2 separate regions of the Homo sapiens genome follow, and region 2 is linked to region 1. Evidence: promoter capture Hi-C in human tissues and cell types (Jung and others, 2019). All regions are on one chromosome and are shown on one strand. The core of a region is centred on a gene start or on the middle of the fragment in contact, and the rest is flanking DNA. Distances in the headings are between cores, read along the strand shown. Region 1 holds the start of SERINC4 (serine incorporator 4). Region 2 overlaps FRMD5 (FERM domain containing 5).

Region 1 (5,778 bases), core at 3,279-5,778:
AGTGAACAATGCATTACTTCTACCTTAGGTTTAGGAGTAATATACCCGGAAATCTAAGCTCATGGAAACATGTTTTCCATTTTTGCTTGGAGTCCGTTTTTCTAGTTGTACATACTTTTTGATCCATATATGTGTGCATGTCAAGAAATAAAAGAATCACACAACAAGGAGATTTTTAGCATGATACTGGAAATAAAATGTCCAAGCTGACAAGTATTAATTGCCTATTAAAGTAAAAGATAACAATTGTCAGGCAGAAGGTGTTTCACATTTTGATAATTCCCTTTGATCTCAGAAACAAGCTCAGGTACTAGCTTGGCTTTAGGTAGCATCTGGATTTATTCCATGACCAAATACAGATGTTTTTGAGAAGACCAAGGTCTTCTCACATCCTTTAAATGTCCCACTGGAAGAATCAAATAGTTTAGTGTCGTACGATAAAAATGAATGCAAATAATTACTATGAGGTGGTAAATACATAAAGATGAACACAGGTACAAGTCACTGTTGTGTGGGATACAATCTAAGAATTATCCTAGAGTCAGAATGAGGGTAAGGCCTTGAAACTCTTGGAGAAATGTCTGTAATTGCCATTTGAGTGTCCTTACAGCAGACTCAGGGGCCGTTGCAGGGTTTTTTTTTTGTTTGTTTGTTTGTTTTAAAGAGACGGCTCTGTTGCCCAGGCTAGAGTGCCTCAGCCTCCCGAGTAGCTGGGACTACAGGCGCCTGCCACCATGCCTGGCTAATTTTTGTATTTTTAGTAGAGACGGGGTTTCACCATGTTAGCCAGGATGGTCTTGATCTTCACTTCGCGATCCGCCCGCCTCAGCCTCCCAAAGTGCTGAGATTACAGGCGTTGAGCCACTGTGCCTAGCTGGGGCCGTCACAGTTTTATAGTTGAGGAAACTAGTTCAACATGTGTGAGTTGGTCCAAGCTGATTTTTTTTTTTTTTTTTTTTGAGATGGAGTTTCACTCTTGTTGCCCAGTCTGGAGTGCAGTGGCGCGATCTCTGCTCACTGCAACCTCCTGGGTTCAAGAGATTCTCCTGCCTCAGCCTCCCTAGTAGCTGGAATTACAGGCGTCCACCACCACACCCAGCTAATTTTTTTTTGTACTTTTAGTAGAGATGGGGTTTCACCATTTTGGCCAGGCTCGTCTCAAACTCCTGATCCCAGGTGATCCACCTGCCTCGGCCTCCCAGAGTGCTGGGATTATAGGCATGCGCCACCACGCCCGGCCCTGATTAACCTTTAAAGTAAAATTACCTTCTCTCTAGGATAGGAAATGGCATGTAGAATGTATTATGGCTTAGAATTTGAATACCAATCAAAACCTTTCATAGGTTTTTTTCGTTTTGAGACAGTCTTGCTCTGTCGCCCAGGCTGGAGTGCAGTAGCACAATCTCAGCTCACTGCAGCCTCAACCTCCCAGGCTCAAGCAAATCCATCTCAGCCTCCAGAGTATCTGGGACCACAGACAGGCACATGCCACCATGCCTGGCTTTTTTTTTTTTTAATTTTAGTAGAGACAAGGTCATGCTATGTTGCCCAGGCTGGTCTGGAAATCCTGACCTGACACAGTCCTCCCAGCCCAGCCTCCCCAAAGTGCTGGGGTTACAGGCATGAGTCACCACACCTGGCCCAACCTTTGATATCTTCTAGTCTTACCATGTTCTAACCCTCAGGTACCTAAATTCTTTTTTTGGTGGTGGGGGGAGCGCGGTAGAGACGAAATCTCACTGTGTTGCCCAAGCTGGTCTCAAACTGCTGGGCTCAAGTGATCGTCTTGCCTCAGCTTCCCAAGGTGTTGGGATTACAGGCATGAGCCACCATGCCTGGCCCCTAAATTCTTTTTTGTTGTTTTGTTTTTGAGACAGTCTCGCTCTGTCACCCAGGCTGGAGTACAGTGGCACAATCTCAGCTCACTGCAACTTCCGCCTCCCTGGTTCAAGCAATTCTTCTGCTTCAGCCTCCTGAGTAGCTGGGACTACAGGCATGCACCACCACGCCTGGCTAATTTTATTTTTTTTGTATTTTTAGTAGAGACAGGGTTTCACCATGTTGGCCAGGCTTGTCTTCAACTCCTGACCTCATGATCCGACTGCCTCAGCCTCCCAAAGTGCTGGGATTACAGGTGTGAGCCACTGTGCCCGGGCTTTTTTTTTTTTTTTTTTTTTTGAGATGGAGTTTCACTCTTTCCCCCAGGCTGGAGTACAGTAGTACAGTAGTGTGATCTCAGCTCACTGCAACCTCTGCTTTCCAATTTCAAGCGATTCCTGCCTCAGCCTCCAGAATAGCTGGGATTATAGGCGCCCACCACCATGCCCAGCTAATTTTTCTATTTTCAGTGGAGACGGGGTTTCACATGTTGGCCAGGCTGGTCTTGAATTCCTGACCTCGTGATCTACCTGCCTCGACCTCCCAAAGTGCTGGGATTAGAGGTGTGAGCCACAGCACCCAGCCAAATTATTTTTTTTTAATCACTCAAAATCAAGCATGTTGTAGGTACCAAAATTCTAACTCAAGGTGGCCTATGAACTGGGTTCATAACCTACATCTATCTATATATATAGTGGCTCCTAGGCAGGTAGCTGGCCTTTTAGATATTCATAAGCTGTCTTGGAGACACATGCCATTTGAGTACAGTAACTCTGCTGAGACTCCAGATGTACCTTGAATACTGTTGAGAGCTAGTCAGATGAATGAGACTGGCCTGCCACCTAGCATCTGCACATGAGGTATTCTTCTACACTGATTTTTCATACAGGTGTGCTAGATTTTAATGGGTCACTTAAATTCAGTTAGTCTCCAACATATAAATTCTCCACAACATAGGATATAGTATACACTCTACTTGACCCAAGATGATAAAACTGAAAAAGACAAAAAAAAATTTTATTGCCATAAATTAATCCAGTAGGTATATTTGAGAAAGCACGCATCAGTTGGTTAGGGCAATAAGCGCCTCTACCACGTTGCCCATGTGTTCCCGCAAACTGCGTTCTGCTGCTGCTCGAGATATCTCCATCTCAGTCATCTGCAGAAAAAAATCATGTTACATAGGTTCCCAGGCATTAATGTGCCACCAAATATACTGACTCCGCTTGTTTCAGGAAACAACCCAAATTAAGCAGAATAGCCTCCCCTCCGCATACACTAGTTAGGCACTACCACTCACTATTAGCTCCAGATCTTCCTTCTTGATAGTGACTTTTGCCAGTTCTTTCTCCCTGCAAAAATATTTAAATATATTAGTCCTCATTCTCAACCAACACCATAAACTCCCAGGAAGGGTCATTCCCAGAAGTGCCCTGTAAATAAATCTTGATAAACCCTTGATTGAAAATAAAAACTCCCACTAATACTCCTTTCCCCTGGAGTCTTGGCAGCAGGTGTTGCCAGGAGGCCTTCTGCTAACAAGAGTAAAGTTGTGGCGCCTAGATCTGCAGGAATTGGTGATAAATTTGAAGAACGGTATAAAGGCTTAATAATGGTTTTTATTTTTGTCTGGGGACCGGGGAGGGAAGAACTGTTAAAGTTGGCTGCCCCTGAAGACTTACCGCTCCTGTTTGGCTTTCTGCTCCCGGGACCTTCTGTCTCCAATCACAGACATGGCCTATGGGAAAGGCAGGTCTAGTTACTGCACCGCTACCCACAATTCCCAATAATCTAAAAGGCCAACAAAACAAGCGGTTCATGCATGGATTCACGATGACAAGTGTTACCAGGTAGCAAGGACTATGTTTAATTCCATTCTATGCACCTGAGGTCCCCTTAAGCCCACTATCAAGCTCCTTTAGGCAAGCGGCGCGCTCCGGTGACCGCTGTTTCCCTCGGCTCTACCCTATTGCCTCCTCCTGCCAACGGGATCAGAACCCCGTCTTGGAGCGCTGGCTTCCAGCTACAGCCTCAGAGCCCCCCTCTGCTCTCAGCCCGCCCCGACATGCTCTTGGCCAACCTTACCGTCTCCAGATTGGAACTCTGGATCTCCTTCTCCTCTGCATAGTCGGTGACCCGCTCCAAGTCCGCCGCACCGCTGTCATGTTTCCGTGGCTTCTCCGGAGGCCGCTCTGGTCCACTGGTCTCAGTCTCCAACTCCAGCTCCACATCCCCCTCGGTCGCCATATCTATTTCACCACGCCGCCGCATAAGCCCCACCTCACGCCGACTTCCGGCAACTGACACAGCTTCCGCCCGGGGAGGAGGCGGGGCTGGCCCTGGGCCACACCTTCTTTCTGCTCCAGTTCTAGAAGCTTCAGGGAGGAAGGCGGTTCGTCTCTCAGACTTCCTTTCGGGTTTGTACAGTGTTTTGTGCGAGGCCTTCTCTCAGACCTAACCCGACACCGCTCCAGCCCACCCCACCGATATCCTTAACCACCTCATAAACTAGGAATAGTCCCCTCAACACATAAACACGCACCCACCCACCTCAGGGAACTCCGTTCAACCTGAATGACGTCTAATCCTAAACCAATAAAGAATGCTAATCCACAGGGGGCCAGATAGACAAACTGCCCCCTAATCTGGAGAGAACAGCCTGAGTGGCCGCAGTGTTGAGGCCCTAAGGACAAAGCTCCTTCACAGGGCATTTGCATTTACCGCAACCTGGAGGTCAGTGTTCTCTTCCGGACGTCTCCATTCTGCCCGGGACCGGGTGCTCAGCCCCAACACAGTGGCAGTCCAATGGGCTGAGGACAGAAGCAACTGCTGCTCTCATCTGCCTTCCATCTGGTGGACCTAAGCCTAATCCCTGGGACAAGGATGGTGGGTGCCAAGGCCGGCCCCAGCCCCGGCACCTCCCTGGGCCTGGCACAGCAGCACAGCGGAGGCAGCAGTGTCCTAGTGAAAAGTCCCTTCTGTCAGGTGAGAGGGTGCGAAGGGGAGAGTGGCCGAAGCTGGGGAGGAAGACGTGCAGAAGCCAATAAAAACGACAGGCCTCTTTTCTCCTCTAATGTCGTTCTGGTTCGTTGCCCCAGGTATAATCTGTAAATCTCTCCCGCCATGTTTCCAGCCCCAGGTGTTTAGGTCGAGAGAAAGGTCAGATATCTCAAGCCTGCTTATAATGAAAGCCCTACTAAGTTGTCAGTGGGCGGCAATCCCAAATGGCTGGAATCAGCTTGAAACAGAACCTGAGTAAAAGGAAGAAAGGGGAAGGGGAAATTTTGGAATTCAACCTCCTGGGTTAACCTCACACATACATTAACGTATGCCTTTCCTCAGCAAGTCTCCACCTCGCTGCCTTGCATCTGCTCTACTCCCAGGTGTGCTGCTGTGGGCCTGCTCCTTGTGCCAGCTGCTGCCACTCTAGGTGGCCCTCTCTCACCGCATCCACTTGCAGCCGCCTGTTCTACATCCTCCTCCATGTGGGGGCCTCAGCAATCTGCTGCCTCCTGCTGTCAAGGACAGTAGTGGAAAGGGTGTGGGGCAAGACACACAGGGTAAGTGAGAGGGGGTCGGGTTGTCAGGTGGGAAGAGATAAAAGGAAAAACCCTAAGATAGAAAAGGTTTCGGTTGGGGGCAGGAGACAAATGAGTGGTCATACCCGTGACAAGTAGGTACCTTTCCATGCATTATGACTTGTCCTGCCATTTCTCTCACACACACTCCCAGATCCAGATGCCCTCGGGGTTGTGTGCCCACCTGTTTGGCCTCTCTGACTGTCCAGTGCTCAGTGGCTCTGGGGCTGTGTACCGAGTATGTGCAGGAACCGCCACCTTCCACCTGCTGCAGGCTGTGTTGCTGGTCCACCTCCACTCCCCCACCAGCCCGCGGGCACAG
Region 2 (5,490 bases), core at 1,921-4,420, 71 kb before region 1:
GGCAGATCAATGGAGCCACCTGCAGCATTGAGGAGGAGAAGGAATCTGAAGCCAGCACCCCAACTGCTACAGAGGTGGAGGCCCTTGGGGGAGAGCTGAGGGCCCTGTGTCAGGGGCACAGCGGGCCCGAGGAGGAACAGGTGAATAAGTTTGTTCTAAGTGTCCTCCGTTTGCTCCTTGTGACCATGGGACTCCTCTTTGTTTTGCTCCTCCTCCTGATCATCCTTACCGAGTCTGACCTTGACATTGCCTTTTTCCGTGATATCCGCCAGACCCCCGAGTTTGAACAATTCCACTATCAATACTTTTGTCCCCTCAGGCGATGGTTTGCCTGCAAAATCCGCTCAGTGGTGAGCCTGCTCATTGACACCTGAGAAGGCATGACTCCTCCCAAAAACTAGCCAGGTGGACCAAGGAACCCGGCTACCCATTCCCAGCAATGGGACCCATCGCGGAACCATCGGCACATATACCAAGTCCTCCTCTCATGACTCAAAGTCCACTGCAGCCTAGGAGGGTGTTTCCCAGAAGAAGAAAGGGATAGGCTCATGCCCTGTCTAAACAAACTGGGAAAACTCATTTTCTTCAGAAGTTATTTCAAGAAAGGCTCAGCGACTCTGTTTCTCATCTTTCCAATTTGCAGGATAATTTTTGGTTTTGAATTTTGATTTTTCATAGATGTATATTATTTTGAAGTATCAAATAAAAATAATTTATTTTACTATTACTGATTATTGCAGTAGTATCACCTAGCAGAGGGGACACTAGTTGAAAACTAGAGAGCTGCTGTCCTCTGTATTCTGCAGGAGCTTTTCCTGCTGGTGCCACTGGGTTCCAGTAGACTCATCACTGCAGCCTCAGCAGGGCAGGCCAGGGATCTGGACAATGGGGACTGTTTAGTTTTTTGTTTGTTTTTTTTGCCAGCCAGAACTTTTAAAAAAGTAAACATCCATGTAGAATGATTAAATGGAAAGTTGCTTCTTATGATGGTCTGAGTTGGATTTTCTTTTCCTTTTGTTTTTTCAAATCTGAGCAGAGTGGGCATCTGAAGGGACCACCGCTACAGCAACAGCAGCATCAGGGGTGGGGTAAGTCTGTCCCCTTAGTCTAGAGCCTAGTGGGCATCACCATAGTTTTGTATAATGAAACTAGACTTAACGTGATTTTTTTTTTCCGAAGAACCTCAAGACTTTTATAGTGCTCCAGGGGCGTTAAACGAATTCAGTGGTACCAGAGATAGATAGTTCTGTCAGAAATGTTGGACAAAGTGTAGTTAAGAGAAAGCAGAGTTAAGTTACCTGAGAGACTGTTGAGATTTGGATAGCAGTGCTTATTTTATATACACCCCCTTGACCCAAAGACTATTTCAATTTATATTTTAACAACGAAATGTTATTTTCTTAACAATTCATATTTTGTTTTTACTTTATGGATTAAGAAAATAGAGCCTGATGAACTAAACGATGCAAGAAAGAAACTGATCCTGAGAATGAAAAGCTTCAGAAAATAGAATTCCAAGATCAACAGCCTTAGAAGGGACCAGGAAAAGAATCTTTTAAAATAGATTTCTAAGAGATGCCTACAAAACACAGAATGTGACCGTGGCAGAGACCAACACTTAGATGTAGAAATGCTGCCCCCTAGGGTCATCCTCTGCATAAGTTCTAGGAAAGCATCACCATCCTTGCAGAGGGAAGTCCTCGAAGCACGCAGCACAGGCATATGAAGGGCGAGTGTGGGATCCTAGGCCCAAGCTCTTCAACTCTAAAACCAATCACACACAAGATCCTGTTTTCATCTCAGGGAGAGATTTCTAAGTCATCTGGGGCTTGAGGGCTTATTTAAGGGTGGTCAATGGACATATTCCTGGACCCACACAAAAGTAGAGCAGCTGCTGATACCCTAATTGGACAGCCCCAAACGCAGAACAGAACAAGTCACTTGTAGACTTGACCTCCCCTATTTTGTCCCCCGAGATGGTAGAACCATGTCCATGTTTACAATATGACAACTGTGGAATAATTGGGGTTCTTAGGGAGAGATTTGCATAATTTTAAAGACATCCTTTCATCTGGACCAGAGGTCAATCAACTTATGTCAAGTGCTACACAGTAAATATTTTGGTTTAGCACGCCATACTGTGTCACAACTGCTCAATTCTGCCATCACAGCACAAAAACAGCCACAGATAATTTGTAAATGAAGGAACATGGCTGTGTTCCAATAAAACTTTATGAAAACAGTGAGCTGAATTTAGCCTACAGGCCATAATACGCCAATCCTGCTCTAGACAATAAAACTGATCCTTACCAGTATGTTAGCAGAAGAGGGTCAGTCAGCTCTGTTTCCATGCCTGACATGTATCAAAGATCTGGGACCTCTTCCCAGTGGAGGCACTAGGGTTGCTTGTTTAAAGGGTGCTTGAACAACTAACCAGCAAAGAGATGTCTGATGCCAAATGGGCAAGATCAAATACTGGAATGCTAAAACACAGCTGGAATCTAAGAAGGGAAGAGGGCTTCTCTGACCATTTTCATACCAGCAACAATTTAGGCAGAATTATAAACATCTATTTATCGAGTGACAATACAAACCGAAGGAGATCCTAGTAGAGATTAGGGGTCAGTTAAAATCAACTAGCCACTGCCACTTGTCATCTACATAGCAAAGGCTTTATTTAGCACAGGACTAACGTGAAAAGTAGACCCAGAGATGAAAAGGCTGTCAGGAGACAGGGGGCTGGTGTCCACCTGGTATCTACTGTCTTATGCAACATAGAAGATTACCTTTTAGTGTAGTGCTCCTACCTCAGTTTGTAGAATCTGGTGTTTCTATGCAGTGAGTGATAGCCTCAACTCTGACCTTTCATATTCACATTAGAGACAGATGCAGTATTCCATATCCTAGTATGTTCCTTGTGTCTAGAGTTCTAACAGTACAGTAGTCTATGCCATTTCTAACAGCTAAATTTTGCTCTGTAAACAGAAACTTTAGGGTTGTTTTTTTCCAGGGCTCATCCCAGAAAATATGGATAGAAAAGTTTCCTTCAGTTTGCTTTTCAAATAGTGCTTGAATAATAAACCTCCTTTGATTGGTGACTAGTCTTTTTTGGTATATCTCCACCTTTAAAAATTGTTCAAGTTTTTAACCTGGTTATACTGTGTTCTAACATGTCTCTCATTTTCTCTCAAAATTAGTTTATCTCATTGTAGAAAAAGCAATGGTTTTCATAGCTTCATCTATCAGGAAATAAAACTCTTACTAAAGAATAGCATACTGCATCTTTAAGCAGTAGAGGGTAAACTACCTGCAAATGTGAATTTCTTAGATACATTTAAAAATATATAGTTGTTAACCTTCTGTGTGCCAAAAACTCTTAAGTTACATTTTCCTTCAAAGCAATGTACTTTTTTCTACATATGCAGTATGTAGTTAGCATAAAATCATTGGTGCCATGAAGATTATTTTTAAACTTAAATAAATATTTAAATATCATGGAAGAGTGGGCTCTTTCTTTAATAATAGCCTGTCTTACTTTTCCTCCCTTAAAGTTACTAACACATAGATAAAAGGATACTGGTGGGATTTACACAGCTGACTACTATTCACTTGGATCATATAACATAATTATTTTGCTTGTATCCACCTATTATCCTTGTCCTTACCCCCAGATAAATACTGTTAGAAACTGAGAAGCGGCCAGGCACAGTGGCTCACGCCTGTAATCCCAGCCCTTTGGGAGGCCAAGTCGGGAGGATCACGAGGTCAGGAGTTCAAGACCAGCCCGACCAACGTGGTGAAACCCCCGTCTCTACTAAAAATACAAAAATTAGCCAGGTGTGGTGGCGGGCGCCTATAATTCCAGCTACTCAGGAGGCTAAGGTAGGAGAATCGCTTGAACCTGGGAGGCGGAGGTTGCAGTGAGCTGAGATCACACCACTACACTCCAGCCTGGGTGACAGAGCAAGACTCCACATCAAAAAAAAAAAAAAAAAAAAAAACTGAGAAGCTATATATGTAATAATTTTAAAGTGAATTGGGTATTTTTCTGATGAGGAAAACCAAGAAGACTAAGTGATTTTCCCAAGATTACATAGTGGTAGAGTCCAAACTAGAACCCAGATTGTCCACCTTCTGGTCTGCTGTTCTTACTCAAGCCTGGAGTAAGTGGGAGCACAGAAAATACTTTCTAAGAAGGAACTACAATGATACCACCACCACATATTTACAAAATATATCCCTATAGCATTATCTCATCTGATTATGTAACCATCACTCTGTGGCTACGGAATTGGAAATGGTCTTCTAAATTCCATGAGGATAAGAGGTGATAATGGGGGCTTGGTCCACTGTGCTAGCTTCTTACCTAATCTTTGTCTTTTCAATTCTGCCTGCCCTCCACTCTCCCATTTCTGTTGCCAGATCATCCTCCTAAACACCAATCAGGCTATGTTACCTCCAAATTTCAGAGGTACCCACTACCTAAAAAATGCTATCTAGCACCCTATCCCCAGCGGAATTTTTTGTTTTTATGACATAAGATTTTGCTTGAAGTGATCCAAAGAGTAAAAAGCACAAGAAACACTGGACCTGGGTGGCTTCCCGTGGCCCTGCCGATTCACAGCAGCCTCCCTTCTGCTGACAGCTTATCAAGAACTACCTGTGCACACACCCCTGTAGGACTCTAGTCCCTACTCCCTCTGCTTTGGGTTCCTCTAGCACAATCTAGCTCCTCTGCACCTGAACACACTTTTGGTTTTAGCTCATGAACAGGCTTCCTCTTCAGACCCCTACGACCTGCTGATGGAATGGAGTAAAACAAGCAAAGCACCCTTTTAATAAATTTCCTCTTGCCCAGTTTCCATTTTGGGGAAAATGTATCATAAAATGTTTTGTTCTTCAGCTCCGTGTAAGTGTACTAAATGTTATCTTCCTCATAAATTCTACCTTTTCATTTGAAAATCCAAGTATTTACAGCCAAATAAGTCAAAATACAATCTGCTGTCTTGTTATTTCTAGCCATCAACACCCTACTAAAAAGCAGGGGGAAATGTACTAAGTCAGAAAGGACCGCCCAATAGGACATTGAAGTTTTTGGAATCTGAAGTTAGAGGGCATATATTTCCTCTTCTCAGATTGATTCAGAAGGCATGTGTGTCTTCTCCCCCACCCTACCCCATGTACTGTACATTAGCTGAAAGGATTTAAATCCTTGTATCCATAGCCCTAAGGCTCCCTGTTTTCCTGGAGAACTCCCCTTGCAAAATCTTCTTGGTGGAAAGGAAGCTCAAAGACCAGAATACTAAAATAGGACTTAAGCAACTCAGATTCTATTAATTCCTAATCATTTGTGGTCTCTCCTAGTCTGACAAAGTCTCTGACAACCAAAAATGAGAATTGTCTGCTCCTTCCTTAAAAGTTACATAACAAAAGCCTGGGTATCTTAAAAAAAAAAAAAAAAAAAAACTCAAGCGGAATTCAGAGCTTAAG

The links. Contacts are between HindIII fragments. The study calls those that stand out against the background at their distance.
Region 2: a contact is called between a fragment that was not itself captured here and the fragment with the promoter of SERINC4 in region 1, in 3 of the 25 tissues and cell types used here (aorta, dorsolateral prefrontal cortex and hippocampus).

Annotation. Positions count from the first base shown.
Region 1 is chr15:43,798,970-43,804,747 of GRCh38, reverse strand. It overlaps SERINC4 (serine incorporator 4), which reads left to right and starts at 4,528. Exons shown (of 12, transcript NM_001258031.2): 1 at 4,528-4,863; 2 at 5,262-5,438; 3 at 5,611-5,778. The coding sequence starts at 4,762. It overlaps HYPK (huntingtin interacting protein K), which reads right to left and starts at 4,149. Exons shown (of 4, transcript NM_016400.4): 1 at 3,964-4,149; 2 at 3,561-3,616; 3 at 3,179-3,230; 4 at 321-3,037. The coding sequence starts at 4,125. The coding sequence ends at 2,942. SERF2-C15ORF63 (SERF2-C15orf63 readthrough) reads right to left here. Exons shown (of 6, transcript NR_037673.1): 3 at 3,964-4,253; 4 at 3,561-3,616; 5 at 3,179-3,230; 6 at 2,159-3,037. It overlaps MFAP1 (microfibril associated protein 1), which reads left to right. Exons shown (of 9, transcript NM_005926.3): 9 at 1-256. RefSeq lists enhancers at 3,873-4,122, 4,030-4,730, 4,731-5,431. The HindIII fragment of the contact is 6,811 bases long and covers 585-5,778 here.
Region 2 is chr15:43,868,769-43,874,258 of GRCh38, reverse strand. It overlaps FRMD5 (FERM domain containing 5), which reads left to right. Exons shown (of 14, transcript NM_032892.5): 14 at 1-3,495. The coding sequence ends at 374. Among named protein-coding and RNA genes, the nearest start is that of WDR76, 45 kb to the right of the region's middle. The HindIII fragment of the contact is 6,836 bases long and covers 1-5,490 here.